Linked DNA regions of Homo sapiens: region 2 is linked to region 1. Evidence: promoter capture Hi-C in human tissues and cell types (Jung and others, 2019). All regions are on one chromosome and are shown on one strand. Each heading gives the region's core, a stretch centred on a gene start or on the middle of the fragment in contact. The rest is flanking DNA. Distances are from core to core; before and after follow the strand shown.

Region 1 (4,960 bases), core at 84-2,583:
GTAATAGAAAAGGTTAATGAATGTCCAAAGTTTTAAAAGCTTGAGTTTGATGTTACATGGTTGAGTTGATGAAAATCTACAGTGGCTTATTTTAAAGGAGTACATGTCTGTATTTGAAATTGCAACCCTCAAGATTAAAGATTTAATAGAGGAATCAATTTAAATATTTTCTTATATACTACAACAGCTATGCATTTTTGCTTAACCATACCATATAACCCAACTGTAACATATGAAAATTGCATAGGAAAAAAATGTGGTCACCAGGCAAGATTTATCTTTAAAAAAAAAAAAAAAAAAAAGCTTGGGTCTAAGGGGTAATGTCCATGCAAATATTCCATGCCAAATAAGATATATACAAGACATGCTGATTTCCTGCCTTCCGCCATCCAACCGGGAACCACCACTGTCCTGTTAATCAAGCCAGTAGGGTGGGAAAATACCACTGTTTAAGAAATCTGGCTTCTATCAGCCTCTGTCATGGAGAAACAAACGAGACTGCCTCCCAGTAAGCAAAAGTGATCACATTTTCACAAATGAAAATGGTAAAAAGAAGTTTAAATTGTTAAAGAGGAAAGAATGAGGAGCCAAAGACAAAGAAAAATCAAAGCTATCAGAGTTGCTGCAGAGGTTTTACTAAACAAAGAATTTTATGAAGCAGCTGAAGTTCAGTACAAAAAGACTCCACCCTACCCAGCTTCTGCCGCGACTTTTCCTTGCTCTGAAAACTCCAGCCCACAGAACAGAGCTCCTCTAACTAAAATGCCTTTAGTGCTCCGTTTTAAGCATTCACTCTTTTCTTATTTTAAACGTCCCACTCTCACACTCAGCCAAAAGGACTTATTGTAGGCTTTCCCAGAAAAATTTAGTAGTGTACTCTCTCCAACGGTGGATCTAGAAGCTCCGGATTTACAAACATCCCAATTGTCTTTCAAGTCGTTTTCCAGGTGCAAATCCGTCAGCCCCCTTCTCAAACTTCAAACCAGAACCTCCTCTTCACGCTCTTCCTGAGGCTTAACATTCCACCTATTTCCCAAACCGTGCAATAAACACTACAAGCAAAGCAAATGGCAAACTCACCATCCTCGTCTTCTTCCTGGGCTTTTATTGAGACAAATTGCCCTAATAAAACAATAAGAATGAGGAGAGGTCTTGCTTCCGCCCAGTTTGCCATCATGTCTAAATATTAGACATGTGGGTTCTCCTGAGAGTGAAAAGTAGATTCTGAGGTTATTGTAGCACCATGAAGTCAGCTGTGGGCTCTTCTTTCAGCACCAGCCCCAGGGCAGCCTCTGCAAACCCCCTTTTTCAGCACCAGCTCCAGCACAGTCTGCGAAAACTTTTTTCAAGCGATGCAGCTTTAAATAGGAAGAATGCTGCCTCCACTTCTTTTCCTGCCCCTTTTCAGCTTGTTCAGGCTCATAACCATCCAGTGTCTGCCAAGCAACGGTCTGATTGATGGTAAACAACCAAATCAGAACACGCGTCTCTGTGCCTGAACTTTCCCTATTTCATTTAACTTTTAAGCATAGATGGGGCTTAATAACAGAAACAAACATTTGTTTCTCTTTTCTTTTATTTTTTAAGAAAGGCTGTTAGAAGAAAAGGGTTCTATTTTCCCCTCCCTAACCCTTCCCCCCAGACACACACCCTTTAACTTTTCCCCTATAAGCTGAAAAAGACATTCCGAAGGAAATCCAGCCTTTTACCCTAGTTTTTTTACATTTAGATAATTCAAGACTCTCTTCTCCACCTTAAATCTTTAAACAATCACATTTTAACCCTTTCTTTTGACTGAATAGGGAGTATTCTTATCCCCTTCTCAGATTCGGTTTCTTTTCCCATACTCTGGAAGGAGATTATTAGAATGTTGCCCAGGTAAAGTCCAGGTTAGAAAACCATTTTGGATAAATGAATTTGTGATACATTGTAATTTGAATTAAGAAAGCATGTCCTTTCCTAATTTCTCCACATCTCTTGTTAAGGGGCCACATCTTCAGGTTCCTCTTGTCCCAGAGAGTTTTACCATGTTGAAAAATAGTCTACTAAGCAGTGCAGAGGAATGGGAAGTACTCTACCTTTGGATGAAAAAAGGCTTGCTTCTGCCTTTTGTGAGTGGTTCTGCCACTCAATAATTTTGTAAATGTGCATATAGTCCTTTATCTCTGTGCACTCCAATTTTCTCATTTGAGAAAAGGGCTTTACCCTGACCAGTGTACAGGGTTTAGTGACACTAAAATGAGTAATGTATTATTAATGAAGCTCCAAATTGCAAAGAGCTACATAAAAGCAGATGGTGGTATTATTAGCTTTAAGCCAGCTTTGCAGGGAATATGATAGCCCCAGTTGAACATGCATTTTAAGGAAAATTATCGATGAACTTTTGTGCCACCCTCACACTTGCCAAGATCTTAATGACCTCAGAGAGTTCTATACAATCTAATGTATTTGCCACCTTGAGTCTCCCTAGAATCAGGATGGATGTTCTATACAATACAAGTGAGTCAATTGTTTATAATTATTGGGCAACAGGTGCCTTGCACTGTGCTAAGCACTGGGCAGAAAGGATGACATAAAAGAAATAAAAGACATACCCATCACCTTCAAGGAACATATGTAGGTGTTGAGAAACTAAATTTACAAGAAATAAAGATATATAAGCCAGAGCATATAAATATGTGAGGGATGCATTAAGCCCGGAGAAAGGAGAAATTATCAAATGAGATTAGGCAAGCAAGACATTATTACTGTTCTTAATAGAAGAAATCCAAGAACCTTTGCATTTTAGCTTTGGAACTAGACTCTGGATAAATATTCCAGTGGAGGTCAATTTTCCCGGTTGTTTCCAGCTTCTAACCCTGTACCTCTCAGTTTATCTTTTCATTTAGACATGTCCCATTTCAATGACTTCTGTCACCACCACACTGTTCTCAGGGGTGCCCTTCCACTTAATGAATGGGCTAAGTAAGGACCAAAAATCACCTTTCAGTTAATTCTTTCTAGAATATCTTAGAGAGGCTAGGACTTGAAATCCATCTGACTATATATTCAAAGATAACAGGAAGATAAGTAAATGTGGGGGGGAGGAATTAACCTTTCTCTGAGCTTGCCAGTCCTATTCTACCATGAGGCAATTTTAGACCAATACCACCCTGATACCGAAGGGCTGGCACAATTTTCAGGCACCTTGTGCAGCATTTTTACTGAAGTGCAAGACGGCAGACATTTATGGAGAATCTACAACTCTCAGATCCTATGCTGGAGATAAAACAATGATTAGGCAAGATTGCAGGACTTGTAGCAGAGTCAGTGTATGGAACACTCAGTGGCTGCTCAGATCAGTAGTTTAGTATCTGTTATCTGTTTGTTAATAAAGTTGTTTTAAATTTAACTATAAACATGGCTTATATAAGAAAGGTTAAAACCACCATGCAGTCTCTCATGGTTGCCACCAGTTTCAATCTCCTCTTCCCACCCTACTGAAAGCTCATGGTATGACAGAAGCATAGCAAATATTTGTCAGAAGACCTGAGATAAGTAAATATTCCATATTGTCCTTGTGAACTCTTGAAATCTTATTGCAATCAAGTCATAAATAGCAAAGTATTTTGCAACTTGGGCTTTTTCTCTATGTCTGGTTTTAGGGTCCCACATTACAATTTGGAAAAGACTAAAATATACACAGGTATTGACCAGGAATATCTGTTTAATATATGTGGTTGAATTCAGAATAGAGGACAATGCCATTTCTTAGTCCTTAAAGAACTGATTATAGACCTCACTGCTGCAGTGGGGTACTCAGAAATCTGTCCCAATTCCAGTGAAGCCTATCCTAACAGTGTATGTTTTGTAATAATATGTGCTAGTGGGTGAATATTTTCCAATTCTCACAGCAACCCTGAAAGGTACTTATTATTTTTCTCAAATCATATATAGGCGATTACGGTTCAAAGATGTTTACTTGCTCAAGTTTGCTCACCTAATAAGCAATAAATCTAGGGTTCCACTTCAGTGATGTCTGACTCCAGAGTGAATGTTCTCACCCCTTTTTAGCTCTTTTTAGACCTACTTGACACTCAAACTTCTATTACCACCACACTGTCCCCAGGAGGAGCCTATTTCCAATTAATGAATGGGCTGAGTAAGCACCAAAAATCACCCTTCAGCTACTTCTTTCTGGAATATATGAGAAAATCAGGACTTGTAAACCACCTTGCTAAATATTCAGGAAGAATAACAGAAAAACAAATAATAAAAATCAAAGGTTCTTGTATTTCTTCCACCAAGAAAAGTGATAATGCCTTACTTACCTAATCTCATTTTATAATCTTCCCTTTCTCCGAACTTCTGCTGAGCTTGATGCATGACACACATATTTATATGCTCTGGCTTATAAGAAAAATTGTCTCAGCGCCCTTTCAGGGATGATCCCTCCCTCTGCACTCCTTATCCCATTTCTTCAAATCTCCTTGCAGATGTTACTCTGTCAGTGTCTCCTTCTCTCTTCTCTACCTTCCACCTTTCTTCTTCTGCTAGTACCTTTCCTACAGCCTGTAAAGCTGCTCCTCACTAATAGTCAATCTTGAAAATAAAAAAAGAAGGGGAGGTTTCCCTTAACCCCACATCTTCTGTGGTCTCTTTTTCCCTTCCATTCCTTCTTCTTTCAGTAATCCTCCATCCCCATATCAGGATCTTATTTCTAGCACTCTAGTTTAGATTGCACTGGCAGAGACACCAACATCCCTTTGTTGATAAACCCAAAGATCTTTCTTCTTTCCCCTCCTAACAGTTGACATTCTGATTACTCCCTTAATACTGAAACTCTTTCCATTCATGGCTTCCCTGGTCTCACATACTCCTTTTATGCCTCCTGCTTTGCTAGTCAAACTTCCTTTTCTAATTCCTCTCAGAAAGTCATCTATGCTCTCCAATCTTGCACTATCAGCTTTTTTCCCTTGTT
Region 2 (4,595 bases), core at 878-3,377, 43 kb before region 1:
ATAGAATAAAAAAATCCTACATGAAAATGCCTTCCTGGAATTTGAGGGTCAGCAAACAACAAACCAAGGGCAAATTTCAGGAAAATGAAACAAGTTATGTCATAAATGCCATTCAAAAGAGTTGCACATACATCTCTTAAGCTTGGCTAAAATCAGGAAAATAGGGTGGACAATCAGTTTTTATTATTTAGAAAATGAAATTTCTTCTAATCCCAATTAATTTTTCATTAGTAACAACATTAGCTTCTGCATGCCTTATTAACCACATGAAATTAGTACAGACTGAGAAGTTATACAAGGCATTAATTTTAAAGTTTTGAAAAGTTATCTTGCCTTTAAGGATAGTATTCATATCTCCAGCTCATAACGTTGGGTTGGCTGGACTACATATAACATATGTAATAAATCTTCAATTCAAGTCACAACTTTTCTTCTTGTTATCTTTCTATTCCTATTTTCCATTTCAGCTTACATCATGGCTGTAGTCAAATAATAAAAAATGACTGGCTTAATTTAAAACCATATACATTCTAATTCAAAACAACCAAATTATAAAAACAGAACCTACCACAGATGCTCATGGATTACTGGACTATTACCTCAACCCTATTAGCAACTTTTTTCTTCCTAACCTGGATATTTAAGTAATACATAATTTATAATGGAGATATTTTATGAGAAAATATTGCCACACAGTCAGTTGTGAGTTATTAAGAGTAACACATGGGCTTTGAACGCTCTATGAATCTGCAGAGTACATATCTGGTAAAAGAAATACTGCCTAAGCTTGAAAATGAAGTACTGCAATGATTTCTGACAAATCCTACTTCTCTGTGTCATAAATATTGGTTACAAACAGTGAACTGAAGAACAAAAGATAATACTCCACATGGCAGTTTATCATTCATAATCCGTAGGCTAATGTCTTTCAATTGTTTTGGCTTCAAGTAGTTGCAAACACTATGCTTATATCTACACATTTAGGAAATCTCCAGATTAATGAAAAAGAACACATATTTTATAAGAGATATTAAAAGATCATTCAGTTTAAAAGGATTTTGTTTAAATTGGTAGTAGCTATAATAGTGGTAATAGGAGAGGCAGCAATAGAAGCTTACATTCATTGAATACTTAATATGTGCTATATATTGTCCTAACTGTTTTATATTCTTGATCTCACTTAATCCTCAATAAACAGTATCATTCCCATGAGGCAACCAACAGTAGCTCACAGCAACTCCCATCCCTCATAAGTGATAGGCCCTGGATTTGAAACAAGAGAGTGTTATTGCAGGTGTAAACCTTTCATCAGTAAGGAGGATCAGCAGAGAAAGAGGTCCACCAGTCACATTTATTCCCTGGATGGGCTATGTTCAGGGAGGTGTTAGAATAAAATGATTGCGAGTGGGATGGGACTTACTGAGCTAGGCCTGACTAAAGCTCTGTTTTCTCAGCACTGAAAGTGCAGAAACTTAATAGTTAAGTCACCTTGTATTTATCAGATTAATTTTTAATGCTAATCTATGCTACACATGTTCATAGGAAATTAATTTGTGTATAAAAAGACAACATATTATTCTGCAAACCAGAAAGTTTCCAGTGAGCTAATCAGCATCTTCTAATGAAAACCTTACTGCTATGTACACAAAAATACCTGAGTACAAATTTACATGTATATAAATACATATTTATATATATGCTTATATATGTATATACTTATATATATGTAAAAGCTTCATATGTGTGTATTGAGGATATAGATATTTTCTTTTACACAGGTGTGGTTACACAGGTTAACTAGGAGGTAGTTATATATACACTCACATTTGGCATCTGTATATTTTTTCTTTTTTATAAATATATATGTATATAAAAATATCATACATGTATAACAATGGAGAAATCTTGTGTTTGTATGTTTACACAGACAGACATAAACACTATGAAATTTTATGATGCTAACAATAATACAATGATATGGAGAGTGGGGAAAAGAGATAGTCAAATTTCCAAACCTGATCTTTCTATACTTTTTAATGTTATATTTTATAATAGTTATTATATTTTATCTTACATTTATTTTTAATACTTGGAATTAGACCTAAATTCAACCTTATTCAAGTAATCACACTGCTTTTTTCCATTTTCTTGCCACAAGTACATTGTCTTGCCAAATATATTTAGTTTGGTTCAGTTAGTAAAACATGGCAAGCTATAAACTTGCTTCACTTTCAGCTACTTACAATCTGAACTTTATTTTCATTTTAACTGCTGATGGCCCAAACTTTTTATTGTCTGATAATATTCATCATTTTGAAAAATAGAAGCCAAATGTCAAATAAAATGCTGAATCTAAATTCCATCTCTTTAGTGTAGTAGAAATCTATATTATAGGTTCTATAATTACAATTATTAATCTACAGTTAACAAATGTTTTCTTCGTTCGTGTTTATTCTGAATAAAACTAACTGGACCAATCTCTTCAAGCAAAAACACAAACATAATACATTAAATATAGCAATAGAATGTGATTTATGGATCTTGAGTGAATTATCATTGGTCTTTTATAGGAAATGACAAGAGGTATAAAATTATCACAGAAAATGAAGTCCTACTCTTACATGAGAGATGTCTTCTGAAGTTTTGAAATCTAATAATAACATATATATCAAGGCCACGCCTAAATCCAAATTCTGTATTGGCTCATGTTACTTGATGAAGTCATTTTGTACAAGTAGCAAGAAGGAAGACTTATGTTCTGATCACTATTGAAGAACACAGGATTAGAGAAATCCAAATTTGGTGAGCTGGGTTGATTTTGTACTGAAATTTTAAGTAATATTCTTTTGATGTAGTCACACATTGTGTATTAAACAAAAAATGATACTTTTCACTTAGAGGAAAATGCTTTTTCTTATCTTATTAATTTGTTAGCCATGGATCCAGGAAATATTTTCCTTTCTCCTCTACAATAGAAAAAACAGCAGCACATGGACTAGAACCTGAGCTAGCTTCTAACTGTGCAGAAGACAGTGAGTTGGGGGCGGGGGATGGGTAGATGGGCTGTTGAACTGGGGCTTGTGCAATACTCATGAAGGCTTGAACCACCATTCAGCACAAGGTGATGGGTGCATAAATGATGTGTGCCTAGGATTTCTCAGACCTGGCAAATTTTAAAGAGAAGATAGAAATCAATATTTGTGTTTGACATCTCTCAATTGTTTGATGTTAATGATGTAATTCTAATAGTTTTTCAAAGCACTGTTTGAGCCCAGGAAAATATCTGTGTGGGCCTAATCCAGTTGAGGACTCCAGGTTTAGGATATACATATATAAAATGGAGTCTTGCTCAGTCACCCAGGCTGGAGTGCAGTGGCATGATGTCGGCTCACTGCAACCTCTGCCTCCCAGGTTCAAGCAATTCTCCTGCCTCAGCCTCCTGAGTAGCTGGGATTACAGGTGCATGCCACAATGCCCAGCTAATTTTTGTATTTTTTAGTAGAGACAGGGTTGCACCATGTTGGCCAGGCTGATCTCGAACTCCTGACCTTGTGATCCACCCTCCTCGGCCTCCCAAAGTGCTGGGATTACAGGTGTGAGCCAATGCACCCGGCCCGGTATATTTTTAAGGTATTATTTCCAGCCTCTGTCTAGCTCTACCCTTATCTTACTTATTAATATGTCTTGATTTGCTTCTGTTTATATATCACATATAGGAAAAATCTGAGAAGAAATGCTCAGATTTCTTCTCAGGCGATTCTACTGTCTCTGCTTCCAAATATTAACTCATACATGCTTAATTGAAATATATATAGATATTTGTATATACAACTATTAGTACACACATATATATTTCCTTGCTCTGTCAGCTGACAGAACACAGAAGCAACAACTCCCAAGTAGCAATGAACACACCTAGGTCCCAGATTGTGGTTTCTGATAGCATTCTCCAATATAAGGAACAAGAGCTCTTTGAATAAACAGCTGATTCTAGGACTGGGCCAATAAATATACAAAACGAACCTAGAACATCTTATAGTAACCGAAAGTAAAAAAGTACATACACACAAAAAAGCCCACATGATGGGGATATATCAAAGGGACACAGAATACAACTGAAAGACTTTCCAGTGGCCAAAACTGAAACAGTTTGACAAATAAAATAAGCAAAGTAGCATTCAAATATCACCAAAAATGTAAAATAAATATCTATGAGTCCATACCGATGTAAATACATACAAAATATAAAATAGAATAGGACAAATCTCCTATGCAGAATTGCAAATGATTTATGTAGCTACCCCACCCTTTAAAAGTTGAAGAGTAAGTCTCCACTCCTTAAGTAAGAACTGTATGTACATAGTGGCTTCCTTCCAAAGGGTACAGAATGGAAAAGGGAGGAAACAGCAAATTTACAGTGAAGACACAGGACAAATACCACCCCAGACAGGTGATCAAATTTAACACCAGGCTTGGCGCGGTGGCTCACGTCTGTAATCCCAGCACTTTGGGAGGCCGAGGCAGGAGAATCACTTGAACCCAGGAGGCAGAGTTTGCAGGGAGCTGAGATCACGCCATTGCACTCCAGCCTGGGC

Evidence for each region. The method cuts DNA at HindIII sites, captures the fragments that hold promoters and counts their contacts. A contact is called where the count stands out against the background at its distance.
Region 2: a contact is called between a fragment that was not itself captured here and the fragment with the promoter of COL5A2 in region 1, in 2 of the 25 tissues and cell types used here (aorta and mesenchymal stem cells).

What each region holds. Positions count from the first base shown.
Region 1 is chr2:189,178,428-189,183,387 of GRCh38, forward strand. It overlaps COL5A2 (collagen type V alpha 2 chain), which reads right to left and starts at 1,334. Exons shown (of 54, transcript NM_000393.5): 1 at 1,081-1,334. The coding sequence starts at 1,177. The HindIII fragment of the contact is 11,142 bases long and covers 1-4,960 here.
Region 2 is chr2:189,134,659-189,139,253 of GRCh38, forward strand. All of the region lies in intron 1 of COL5A2 (collagen type V alpha 2 chain), which reads right to left. Among named protein-coding and RNA genes, the nearest start is that of MIR3129, 3.8 kb to the left of the region's middle. The HindIII fragment of the contact is 3,329 bases long and covers 464-3,792 here.